Linked DNA regions of Homo sapiens: regions 2 and 3 are each linked to region 1. Evidence: promoter capture Hi-C in human tissues and cell types (Jung and others, 2019). All regions are on one chromosome and are shown on one strand. Each heading gives the region's core, a stretch centred on a gene start or on the middle of the fragment in contact. The rest is flanking DNA. Distances are from core to core; before and after follow the strand shown. Region 1 holds the start of SNRPG (small nuclear ribonucleoprotein polypeptide G). Region 2 overlaps MXD1 (MAX dimerization protein 1). Region 3 holds the start of TGFA (transforming growth factor alpha).

Region 1 (4,277 bases), core at 1,060-3,559:
GCTGTTTCCAGGCTGTGATATATTTTCCTAGTGGTTTGACTTTAAAAATAAATAAGGTTTAATTTTCTCCCCACTATTGAGTCTTCTTTCCTTATATCTGGGTGGTGAATATGTAACTTTCTCAGGATGCTTCTCCTTTTAACAGGTTAAATGAGTTAAAATGTCCAGAAGAGTGGAAATTAGTTGTTATGGTTCAGATGCAGAACTGGTTCACTGTAAATGGGAAAAACTTTGAGAGGAGACTAGGACATTGTGACTTGAAGTTCATTAATGTAGAAAAGAAACTGTCTATGAGGCTAAAAAGAGAAATTCATTATCTATGTCAGGTCTCTAGCTTCAACTAAACACTAATAGCAAGTGGTAGTAAAGGTACAAAGCTATGACCCTGCTAGAAAAAATTCAGTGTCTAGGATTTTGAGTACTAAGAGAGTGCAAAATATGTGATGAGTTTAAGTCTTTACTATCATTGATATTTATATAGAGCCATTCCAGAATATCAGGAATTAACTGAATTTTTGAGAACTATCCCCTATTTAAACACAAGGTATTCTATTTTGGTTTAGTCTTCTATAATTTTGGGGTAACAACTGGGAACAAGTCCGAGACCACTTTTTACACATCTTGACATGAAAAAAGAACACCTTATATTAGAAAATGTTTGTGTGCTGCACTTCACATTTTATATACAGGGGCAATAGCACATCAGTGAGTTCTGGAGGTAGTGTTTGAAAAATTTCAGAATTCCCAGGCATGCTGGCTAACCCCTGTAATCTCAGCACTTTGGGAGCCGGAGGCAGGCAGATCTCTTGAGGCCAGGAATTTGAGAACAGCCTGGGCAACAAAGCAAGACCTCGTCTCTACAAAAAAAAATTAGCTGGGTGCAGTGGCGTGCGCCTGTAGTCTCAACAACTCAGGAGGCTGAGGTGGAAGGATTGCTTGAGGCCAGGAGTTCGAGGTTGCAGTGAGCCATGATCACACCATGCTCCCCAGCCTAGGCGACAGAGCAAGAACTCATCTCAAAAAAAATTTTTTTTGCAAGACCCCTCAGTCAGAAATAGATTCAAATTCTTGGAGACAGACCCAGTCACCTTACTCTACAATGGTTCAGAGGCTGCTAATTTACATGTTACGGGAACCCTACTTGGTCTGACAGTATGCTGTAGGGTTACCTGCCAAAAAAATATAGAGGCCCAGCCGGGAGCGGGGGCTCACGCCTGTAATCCCAGCACTTTGGGAGGCCGAGGCCAGCGGATCACGAGGTCAGGAGATCAAGACCATCCTGGCTAACACAGTGAAATACGGTGTCTACTAAAAATACAAAAAATCAGCCCGGCGTGGTGGCGGGCACCTGTTGTCCCAGCTACTCGGGAGGCTGAGGCAGGAGAATGGCGTGAACCCGGGAGGCAGAGCTTGCAGTGAGCCGAGATCGCGCCACTGCACTCCAGCCTGGGCGACAGAGCAAGACTCCGTCTCAAAAAAATATACATATATAGAGAGAGGCCCATTCCTCCAGGGATCATTATCATTTGGTATATTGGTATATATGAAGAAAATAAGCGATACGATCCACAGACATGCGGGATTGGCCGGGTTTGCCCAGGAGCTAGAGACGGGACCGTTATCTCAATATCTCAATTTTATTTTTTAAATAGAGAAGGGGTCTCGCTATGTTGCACAGGCTGGTCTCGAACTCCTGGGCTCAAGAGATCCAAAGTTCTGGGATTTACGGCGCCCGGCTTTTTTTATTTATTTATTTATTTTTATTTATTTTGGCTGTTCCATAGACAAGAGCAGGGATAACCGGCTGGGCGCGGTAGCTCACGCCTGTAATCCTAGCACTTTGGGAGGCCGAGGCGGGCGGATAACGAGGTCAGGAGATCGAGACCATCCTGGCTAACACGGCGAAACCCCGTCTCTACTAAAAAATACACAAAATTAGCCGGGCATGGTGGCGGGCGCCTGTAGTCCCAGCTATTCGGGTGGCTGAGGCAGGAGAATGGCGTGAGGCCGGGAGGCGGAGCTTGCAGTGAGCCGAGATCGCGCCACTGCACTCCAGCCTGGGCGACAGAGCTAGACTCCGTCTCAAAAAGAAAAGAAAAAGAGCAGGGATACCCACCGGTGGAATACCCGTTATCTCAATTTTGTACAAGGAAAACGGAATTCAGAAAGGTGCCTAGAGGACGCACCCCTCCGTCCTGGCCAATCGCTGAGGACATAACCGGAAGCTCAACGATGACCGAGGCGCTGAGATATCGCGAGGTGAAATGTAAAAACTGCCAACAATCCATTGGCTAACGAGGTCGATGACGCCAGACGCAAGACGCCGGGCCTACAGCGGGAGCGTGAGGAAAGCCGTGCGTTGCGTTCCAAGGCATCTGTGAGCCCGCGGAGTATACACCATGAGCAAAGCTCACCCTCCCGAGTTGAAAAAGTAAGTATGTGTGAGAGCCAAACCGAAGTGGTCAGTTATTTGCGTCCTGCGAGTCCCTTGGTTCCCTCTCCGTTAGCCGAATGTCTTGAGCCGCTTCACTTCATTTCTTCTTCCGGTCCGAGGTCGCCGGGATCCCGGCCAGGCTCCCGCGCATGAGACGTGAAGCCCGCGCAGAGCTCGCGCGTCGGTGTGGTTACAGCCGGCAGCCACGGCACCTCCTTCCGGCCGACTAGTCTCCAGGTCCCGCGGTCTGGCCCCTGGTCACCCGGCGCTGTCCCTCGTTCCTTGAAGATCTCCAGTGCTACCTTTTGTTGAACATCTCGAATAGTATCATGTTCTAGATAGACGGCTAGAGGGGGAAATTCTCTGAAGGAACTAAGGAGGGGCTGGAAGGGAAGGAAGTGTTTTTAAAACTACGTGAGGCATCAGAATCCGAAAGCCACTTTAGTCTTAGCAAATGTGTTTGTAGGTGTTTGAGCTTTTACTTAGAAACCTCATTCCTTTTTCTTGCCTTCTTTTACGTTAAGCTTGAATGTCATGTGTTATCTTGCTCTGATGTTGAAACTATATAAGAACATTCATTTTTCTTTTTTTTTAAGAACATTAATTTTTTCTAGTCAGAGAAGGCTAATTTTTTGAAGTTTTTTCTACACACCCAGTAAAGTCAAACAACTTTAAGTAGGAGAGCCTTACTTTAGGTAGGACTCAACGTAAAGCTTTGAATTCCTCAAATACTTTTTGAGTGGACTTAACAGGTTATGTGTTTCCTGACTACGTTTCTGTTTTGCTTATACTTCCTGATGCTGGAATTCTACATGTATTAGTTGGATTGCACAAAGGATGCAAAATTTTTACAGGGATCAGTTTTTTCTGGCGTAGCATGTGGTTGGCTTTGTGTATAGTTAGTTCATTTATTACCAGGCCCATGGAAGTCAGACAAAAGGTAAAGTTCCTATTTAATAATTTTGCGGCCGGGCACAGTGGCTCACGCCTGTAATCCCAGCACTTTGGGAGGCTGAGGCGGGAGGATCACCTGAGGTCAGGAGTTCGAGACCAGCCTGGCCAACATGGTGAAACCCCCGTCTCTACTAAAAATACAAAAAATTAGCCAGGCAGGTGGTGTGCGCCTGTAGTCTCAGCTATTCCGGAGGTTGAGGCAGGAGAATCGCTTGAACCCGGGAAGCGGAGGTTGCAGTGAGTCAAGATCGCGCCATTGCCCTCCAGCCTGGGTAACAAGACCGAAACTCTGTTTCAAAAAATAATAATATTTTTGCATTTAAAGGTCCATTTGTATCAAAGCCATCTTTTGTATGAAAACTACTTCTATGTATATTTTAGTTAGGTCTGTTAAGGAATTAATTATTAAAACATAAGCCCAACGCGGTGGCTCACGCCTGTAATCCCAGCACTTTGGGAGGCCGAGGCGGGCGGATCACGAGGTCAGGAGATGGAGATCATCATGGCTAAAACGGTGAAACCCCGTGTCTATAAAAATACAAAAAATTACGTGGGCTTGGTGGCGGGCGCTTGTAGTCCCAGCTACTCGGGAGGCTGAGGCAGGAGAATGGCGTGAACCCGGGAGGCGGAGCTTGCAGTGAGCCGAGATCGCGCCACTGCACTCCAGCCTGGGCAACAGAGCGAGACTCCGTCTCAAAAAAAAAAAAAAAAATAGAAGTTACTCAGAAATTATTGTGAAAATTACTCTTTTTATCTGAAAGTTATTTTTGGTGATGTAAGTATCCTCTGGATTCATCAGGGACTGGTGAAATGGTGATTTTTTTTTTTTTAACAAAAAGACCATTCTCTACTTGTAATCTAAGATTTTCTTTCTGATTCATAACATAGT
Region 2 (4,277 bases), core at 759-3,258, 360 kb after region 1:
TTCTCAGGAAGCATGGAAAGCAGACGGGAGGGACCCAGAGGGATATAGGGAGACCTCTGAGGATTTTATTGCAGTAGACAGTGGGGATGAAGATGGAAGTAGACCGGTTGCAAAATATTTAGGCCTTGGAGATGGCCTAGATATATGGTTAAGGAGCAGGAGCTATCACGGACTCCTGAATTTCTGGCTTGTACAACTGGATGGAGAGTTGGATGGACCATTTAACCTCTGGTGCATGGGAGTGAGAAACACTCAGTTGGGTTTTGAATATGTTGCATTTGAGGTACCTGTGATTCATCCAATAGCTAGACTGGAGGAGTTCAGGGGAGAGGACTGTCCTGGAGATGTAACAACAGACAAACCCTCACTGAACAGGTAAAGATAAAGCAGCATCCCAACAATACACTTACCTTTATGTGCAATTTGGCTTTTGTTAATAAACTCAACGTAGTGTGTCGACTTGATTCGGGTCCAAGTGGCACCAGCCCCTTCAACTTCTCCAGGCACAAGCGAAGATGAGCCCGTCTATGAAAACAAGACCACAGTAGCATTTGAGAGTTTCACAGTGGGCCAGAAGCACCCCAGGCAGAATGAGTTCTCAAAGAGTGTGAAGTTGCCCAGGCCTTGCGATGGCAAATGCTACCAATGACCTTTTGCTGAATAAACATATTTTGAACCAGACAACTCTGGTGAAAACCAATGAGAAGCAAAATCCAAGGTTTTCGAAGCTAAGTCTATTGATAATACAAGTGCTGGGGTAGGGAATAATATCTGCTATTATATAGTCATTCACATGTGTAAATACTATATACAGTAATGGTCCCTGACTCATGATGGTTCAACTTACAATTTTTTAAATTTATAATGAGTTTATTGAAGTATTAAATGCATATTAGACTTGGGATGTTTTTTATTTATGATGGGCTTCTTGAGACATAACCCCATCATAAGTCAAGGAGCATATATATCTGTGGAGTTATTTGTTGAAGCTTTATTTGTAATAGCAAAGATTGAAACAACCCAAATGACCACCCAGGAGGGAACTGGTTAAATAAATTATGCTACATCCACACCGTGTAGTACTATGTAGCTATCAAAAAGAATGAGAATGTGCTTTATGTCCTATTAGGAAAGATTTTCCAGATATATTGTTAAGTGGAGAAAAGCAAGATTCCAAACTGTGAGTATACCATGCTATCTTAAAGATGGAGGAAAACAAGAATCTATATTCATGTTTTCTTGTATGTAGACAAACTCTGGAATGACACATAAGAAACTGGCTGGGCAGGGAGAAGGCAAGGAACAGTCAGACAGAGATAAGGAAGGAAGTGATGGGGGTTTTTACTGAGTCATTTTTTATACTTTTTGTTCTTGGAGTATGTCAGACTGATGCAATGGCACGGAGTGGGAGAGGGAGAAGGGCTGGATGAAGCAGCAGCCACGGCAACTGACTGAAGAGAGAGCACGAGAGTTGCTCCAACTGAGAAATTTACATTTCCTTGAAATGGTTTGTGCTTTATTCTAGAACCTGGAAAATTCTATGAATGTAAGAAGCAGCTGAGATTTGGGGGTTTTGCTTAAGCTTACCACCTCCTTAAAGCCTTCCCAAGCCATCCTAGCTCACAGTGATTCCTCTATTTTCTAAGCACCACTTAACTGTTTATATTATTCACTGGGAAGTTCACTGTACTGCCTGACTTGTTTCATATTTCTTACTTAACCATTCATTGCAGTCTCCTTAGAAAGTCAGGATTGCAGCTTAATCATTGCTGTGCTGTCACCGTGCCTCAAACACACACATGCTTAATAAGTGTTTGCTGAATGGATTATGTCATCTATTCAACTAGACTTTAAGCTTCTAGAGGACAGAGTCCATCTCTACTGCATCTTTGCACCTTCAGCAGTGCTCAGAGTCTTCAGGTTTTAGATAACATTCATTGCCCACACACAACCTACTTGGAGCAGAGTTCCCTGGGGTCTAGGAGGCTCCCCTCCAGCTGAATTGGGAAACAATGCAATGCCTTATAGGTTTGCCCTTTTTCCTCTTAAGAATTGTACTGTAATAGCAAAAGTTGAAAATATAGACCAAAGAAAGGAAATGGCTTCAGAAAGCTATAGGACAGGTGAATATGCATGATATTAATGTAAGAAGTCAATTCACACTCTCCAGGGAGACTTCAGGATGTTCCCCTAAGGCAGGGCTAGTAAGCAAGGCATTAGACTTCCTTCCTTCTGAGCCTCCTGCCTCTTCTAGGTCATGAGGAAGTTGTCCTAAACTCTCCAAGGGTGCTCTAAGGCTTGGCAAGCTTGGGGAGTACAGCATTCATTTCTGAGCTAGGAAGAGGTAATAGCACAAGGGCTTTACTATTTTGTAAGTCTTTCACTTCTTCTGAAAAACCTGTCCATGTGGCAGAGTCAGAGCAAAGACTCATGTTACAGGTGTGCTCCTCCCACTACTGCATGTGGTGGGGACCAGGGAAGGGAAGAAAACTTGTATGTAAAATATACTTGTTCATCTTGGATAATATTCTTCAAAAAGAGCCATGAAAATAGATCATGTTATTAGAAACACTATGAGAAAGTATAATTTATACATTTATAAATTTGTCTATTTCTTGCCATAAAACTTATAGACTAATTTTCTTTTTTTGTTTTTTTTTTTTTTTTTTTTTTTTGAGACAGAGTTCTTGCTCTTGTCGCCCAGGCTGGAGTACAGTGCCGTGATCTCAGCTCATGGCAACCTCTGCCTCCCAGGCTCAACAGATTCTCCTTCTTCAGCCTCCTGAGTATCTGGGATTACAGGCGCCCGCCACCACGTCCGGCTAATTTTTGTATTTTTAGCAGAGATGGGGTTTCACCATGTTGGCCAGGCTGGTCTCGAACTCCTGACCTCAAGCAATCTGCCTGCCTCAGCCTCCCAAAGTGCTGGGATTACAGGTATGAGCTAATTTTCCAATTAGAAGAAAAAGTTCAAAAATTAAAATTATATTTAGATATTTTTCAGCCAGCTTGTTATTTGCAAAGACTGCATGATTCAGAACAGTGTCATTTTAGTACTTTTATGATGTTGGTTTATATGCAGATATGAGTGTGTGAATTTTTTTAGGAAGTTTGTCCACTGATAAAAATATAATAAAGTCATCTTTTGATGCATTGTCATTTCTAGCCTTATAGGAGTCTTGCCCAGAAAGTGCAATTTTCACTACCCAAATGTGGGTTTCCAAAGAACACTCCTAGTCGTGAAACTAGAAATAAGCCATTTGACTAATTCCAGCTGAGACTAATACTTGTTCATTCAGTGTTTTCTGGCCTAGTTCTACAAAAATAGGACCAGAATTCTTTCTGGATTTTTGCAGAGACCCAAAGCCAACTCTGTCTTTGGCAGTGTCTGCCTTGGCCTTCTCCGGCGCCTCACTGCTGCAGCCTGATGGCTGCCCCCTGCCCACATGCCACTGCCTGCAGACATCCCCACACTGGTGCCCGGGCCAACCACAGGAGAGCAATGAAATATATTAAGTAGACTCAGTTCTATCATACAGTAGTGAAATCCAATCCCTGAACCAGATAAAAAAGCAAACAGACCCCTCTGTTATGTACAGCTCCTACCAAAGCTCTCCAACCCTGACACACACACACATACACAGACACACATACAGACACACAAACTCCTGGGATCTAGAATCCCTCTGCCAGCCCTGAGTACCCACGGAGCTCCCAGATCCAAAACAAGCAGAACAAACACCCGTCTCAGCTCTCTTTTCTCAGTTCTGACTACTCCTGTGCCCTGCTGTCCCATTTTAAACCAGGTCAAACTCCCATTTGGGGAACTAGCAGGGGTTTTGCCATATATCCTCAACAGGAAGCCACCCGACACCTCAGTGTGACCCAGGAAGTTGACTCTCCTCCCATCACATCTTCTTCAGTCTTCCCTCTGTTGCCAAGAGCTACCTCCCATCTTCCTGGCACCCGGCTGCCTCTTCCTTTAGCACTGATCCACACTGCTTTGTACCTAGGCCATGGACTAACAAACTTCACCTTCTGACTCTTCAGAAACATAACTTTAATTATTCTGAATAAGCTGATATACCTTTGGTCTACAGTGGCATAAAGAAACCAATCTTTGAACTATAATAAGTCATGCTCTGAATCAAGTATGGCCCATAACTAGTAATAACAAATTTAGATACAACTATAGATTCTATTCAGTAAGTTTTAAGTATCCCAAATTTTGTTGATTTTTAATTTTTTTAAAAAATTCTGACTCAGTCACTATGCAA
Region 3 (4,277 bases), core at 638-3,137, 260 kb before region 1:
CCATGTTGCCCAGGCTGGTCTCGAACTCCTGAGCTCAAGCAATCCACCCACCTCAGCCTCCCAAAGTGATGGTATTACAGGTGTGAGCCACCATGCCTGGCCTGCAAGTTACCTCTTGATTTAAAATATTTTCCAATCATGAAGGAAATTGACTTGATTCTGCTACTTCCCTCCACCTCTGACTTTGGGGGTAGGGGACAGATAAGCAGAAACTGCTGAACATGACCCTCAGCCGGCTGGGCAGCCATCCCTCAGCCACAGTGAGCTTGATTTGCGTGTTCCAGTAGGAAGCAAGGAGTCAGGTCCTTCTCTAGTCCTGGGGAACAGGAGAAGGGTGGGGGAACCCCTGATTCCTCCCCTTCTGTAGCCAAAGCAGACTAGTTTAGGGAGGAGACAGGGAAACCACCAGAGCAGGTCAAGATCAACCTGAAGGAAGTGGGAGTCAGGGACAACCTACTAAAGGAAGTGCATGTGTGCCTTGTACATGCATGGGGTGGACCAAGGAAAAGATTTACCCTAAAAGAACAAAGTATGCTCCGACAAATCTATTGAAAGGAATGATTTACACTGGTGCTTCCTGCCCAAATGTTGAGACCAATGGCCTGGTGCTTCCTTCTTGAAACTAGGTTGCTCTACTTACATGAAACAAACTGGGCAGAGGTCAACCGTGAGAGCCTGAGCCTCCCCAAGTAAACAGCAAAAGATTCCCCAGGCCCAACAGCCCCCACCCCCACCTTCAAGGAAAGTGGATCTACCCGGAGCACGTAGGCCAGAGGAGGCAGGAGAAGAGGGTCAGTCCGTGAGCTCCGGGTACCTGGAGAACATGAATCTCCCGGGTGTACTGTCCCCATGAGGGTCACCGAGGAACCTATGGATCTTCCACTCTTCGCCCAGAATGTCTTCCCTCTATCCCCTCCACCTCCCCAAATTCCAGCACCAGGGGCCACCTCAGAGCCACAAATCCTGAAAGGACCACCCAGGTGACTCGGGCCCACACACCCCTCTTTCGGGGTACACTTGGTGGCAGGCTAGCAGGCTTTTGGCCTCAGCTGGTGGTGCCATATAACCAGATTCGTCACAGAGACCCATTTTTTATCAGTCCCAGGCCAGAAGTACGAAGACTGATCTTAACGATGTGGCCTGCCTGGGAGGTAAGGCGGCAGGCGTTGCCAGAATTGATGGGAACTGTGGCACAGGTGGGAAACCTGGTTTAACAAATTCTTCATTGATTCAGGGGACCACTTTCCTTGAGCCAAGTCTTGGCAAGCGGCCGGCGAAACTCACAGGTCCCTTTCCTGGCTGCGTCCCCAGCCTCCAGCCTTCCCCGCCCCAGAGATGCCCCAGGAGCGGCCCCTCGGTGTAGGTAACGGGTGCCCGGGCGGCTCCGCTCCGCCGCCTAGAGCCTGGAAGCCGCCACTGCGGCCCAGGACAATCCGGCTACGCGGCCGGCGCCGACCCCGCACGCTGGAGTCCGCTGCCGCACGGCGCTGGCAGTCGGGGGTGGTGTCTGAAGTCAGGCGCTTCCTGCCTTTTCGTCGGCCCGGGTGCCCGGCTCGCGCCGCCAGGCTCTGGGATCCCAGGTCGCCCCGCCCAGCAGCCCGCGCCCTGCTCGGTGCGCTCAGCGTCCCCGCCCCTTACCCCAAACCCCCACCCTCTGTGCCCTCAGGGGGGCACCCCCATCGGGGCGGGAGGGGGGGGTCAGCTGTGCCCCGGTCGCCGAGTGGCGAGGAGGTGACGGTAGCCGCCTTCCTATTTCCGCCCGGCGGGCAGCGCTGCGGGGCGAGTGCCAGCAGAGAGGCGCTCGGTCCTCCCTCCGCCCTCCCGCGCCGGGGGCAGGCCCTGCCTAGTCTGCGTCTTTTTCCCCCGCACCGCGGCGCCGCTCCGCCACTCGGGCACCGCAGGTAGGGCAGGAGGCTGGAGAGCCTGCTGCCCGCCCGCCCGTAAAATGGTCCCCTCGGCTGGACAGCTCGCCCTGTTCGCTCTGGGTACGTACGCCGGCTGCGGCGCCCCCTGCGCCGCGCGACACCCTGCTTCCCCCGGTCCCCGCCGAGTTCCCCTTTCCGGGGGTTTCTGCGCCCGCCTGGGAGAGTGGAGAGAAGCGAGTAGTCTCAATGGGTTGGCGCCTGGGAGGCAAGGGGAGTCATTAAGAATGACAAAGAGGGGACTGTCCGGTCGAGCGCCGAGGCTTCCCCGGGAAAGTGGCTGCCTGGGCCGTGCGTGAGAACACCTGGGAAGGGGAAGCGGAGTGTGAACGGGCTTGAACTTTAATCCGCCGCAGCTGTGTGTCTGCTCAGACACATGCCTACACCTACCTGCTTACCTGGCTGCCTCCAAGCCCGGCTCAGCCGGCGTCGCTGGCGTGTAGACTGGGCCGCCTCGGAACGGGGGCCGGCGTCTAACCCTCTGGCCGGGTCTTGCCTGCGCCCCTTTGGCACCCCCTGCCCACCTCTAAGCCCCAGCGACGAGCAGAGATGTTCAAGATCGGCAGAGGCGCCCTCGATCTCTTTTCAGAGCTCTTGAGCTTTGGGGGTAGGTTTTGGATTTTTGGGCGGATTAATGGTTCCTTTAATTAACTTCCCTGGGAGAAGTGGTTTCGGTGTCCGCCGAGGGCAGGAGCGAAACCCTAGACCGAGTGTTGCCAGTTTCCTTTGAGTATGTCCTTGGAAATGAAGGAGGGATGGGAAAGGTGAGGGGAAGTTAAACCCCTCTCCCGGGTCGGGTCTGCGGAGCGGTGCGTTTTTTGGCGGTGAAGTTCAAGGGTCTGTCTGGACGCGGTGAGGGCGCAGCGCCGCGCGCCTCCTGGCCAATTCTTGCCCCTTGTGCTGGTGGGTCTCTCTGGTGTTGAGATAGCTGATCAATAGCGCAGGTGTCCTGGTTATTGCTAGTCTTCCGTGAAGTGAATTGTTCGTTCGATATGCCCCGAGTTTAACCCGTATAGCATGCGGCTCGCTGCAGGGTGGTTAGAGTCTGTGGAAAGCCATGGAACTCCTCCCCAGAAATGCCCAGAGCCGCAGCCTCACCCAGCTCCGTGTACAACTACAGGGGGTTCGCGGCCCCGCCTGCAAGCCTGCCCTAGAAACGCTGATTAAAAACCGCAGCAGAAGGGGAGGCATCCTGTAAGAGAAATACAAGGCAGTCTTGGAACCGGATGCTCCCAGCTACACCCTTACCTGAAACTCACCAGCAGGTAACATGGGTATGGGAGGCTTTTCCCCCACATTTTTGAAGAATTGCCTTTTTTGTGTGCATGTATTGACTGTTGCTCTGATTTAAATTTTAGAAAAAGCAATAAAACATTACCAATACAAGGGAAGCTTCCTGGATATAATTATCCCTTGTAATGTTTTTGCAAATAATAGTAGTAAGTAGTAGTAGTAATAACAGCTGATGCTATTCGAGCATTTTACTCTGTGTCAGACACAGTCCAAGTGCTTTACATTTATTCATGCAGTTTTCACACCAACCGGATAAAGAAGGTGTTAATATTATTCTCATTATATAGCAGAGGAAAGTAAAGCACACAGGGTCCACAGTAAGTAACTGGACCAGGATTGTCGAAGAACGTGGAAGGAATGTGAATATGAAAAGTCACCTAACTTGTGGTCATTATAGTCCCATCTCTCTTTTGGGACTTTGCCTTAAAGAGAGATTATGTGGAATACCCTGGAACTTGTTGTTAAATTGAGTTTCCTATTGAATTCCTGGGATCTCAAGGTGGTTATTCGGTAAAAATTAGAGGCAGGAAATGATGAAGATAAGCACATTTGAGTAAGTGTTTGAAAGCTGTCCCTACACCCCACACTCCCATCCCAGAATTCTCGCCCACAAAGACTGCATTCATTCATCATGTAATTTTTCTCTTTTGCCTGAATGTTCTTTTCAGCTTGATCTTTGTTTCCTTCTTTAAGAAAATGATGTATAAACTTTAAAAGATTGATCAATATGTAAAAACTTGCTCACACAGTTCCAAAATGTGAGCAGTTGAAAAAAGTGGAGAAAAAAAAAAGGCAGGAGTAATTTACACCAGTGAGGACTCCTTTTTATTTATATGTCTTTAAAAGAAAAATCACAGCTGTGAGTTCTGTGCGTTTACTAGAACTGCTGCCTCCCACATATAGCTTTACTTTGCACATTTCCTTCAAAGCTGCTTTCCCCTCTGATTTTTCTTAAATAGTTGAAGGCAGTTCCAGGAGAATCAACCAGTGTTCCATCGCTACCCGAGATCTAGGAAACCTCCGTGGGGCTAGTCTGAGAAGGAACTGGCTGTTAGGAGTCTC

The links. The method cuts DNA at HindIII sites, captures the fragments that hold promoters and counts their contacts. A contact is called where the count stands out against the background at its distance.
Region 2: a fragment that was not itself captured here is called in contact with the fragment with the promoter of SNRPG in region 1 in 1 of the 25 tissues and cell types used here (hippocampus).
Region 3: a contact is called between the fragment with the promoter of TGFA here and the fragment with the promoter of SNRPG in region 1, in 1 of the 25 tissues and cell types used here (adrenal gland).

What each region holds. Positions count from the first base shown.
Region 1 is chr2:70,291,772-70,296,048 of GRCh38, reverse strand. It overlaps SNRPG (small nuclear ribonucleoprotein polypeptide G), which reads left to right and starts at 2,309. Exons shown (of 4, transcript NM_003096.4): 1 at 2,309-2,431. The coding sequence starts at 2,400. LOC124906023 (a long non-coding RNA gene) reads right to left here and starts at 2,147. Exons shown (of 2, transcript XR_007086880.1): 1 at 2,117-2,147; 2 at 35-991. FAM136A (family with sequence similarity 136 member A) reads left to right here. Exons shown (of 3, transcript NM_001329752.2): 3 at 1-73. RefSeq lists enhancers at 2,148-2,627, 2,644-3,551. The HindIII fragment of the contact is 9,687 bases long and covers 1-4,277 here.
Region 2 is chr2:69,931,599-69,935,875 of GRCh38, reverse strand. MXD1 (MAX dimerization protein 1) reads right to left here. Exons shown (of 6, transcript NM_002357.4): 4 at 411-525. It also overlaps a transcript of ASPRV1 not described here. Among named protein-coding and RNA genes, the nearest start is that of MXD1, 19 kb to the right of the region's middle. The HindIII fragment of the contact is 4,255 bases long and covers 1-4,135 here.
Region 3 is chr2:70,551,436-70,555,712 of GRCh38, reverse strand. It overlaps TGFA (transforming growth factor alpha), which reads left to right and starts at 1,887. Exons shown (of 6, transcript NM_003236.4): 1 at 1,887-1,985. The coding sequence starts at 1,946. LOC124907824 (a long non-coding RNA gene) reads right to left here and starts at 3,005. Exons shown (of 2, transcript XR_007086906.1): 1 at 2,321-3,005. RefSeq lists a silencer at 1,757-1,826. The HindIII fragment of the contact is 16,400 bases long and covers 1-4,277 here.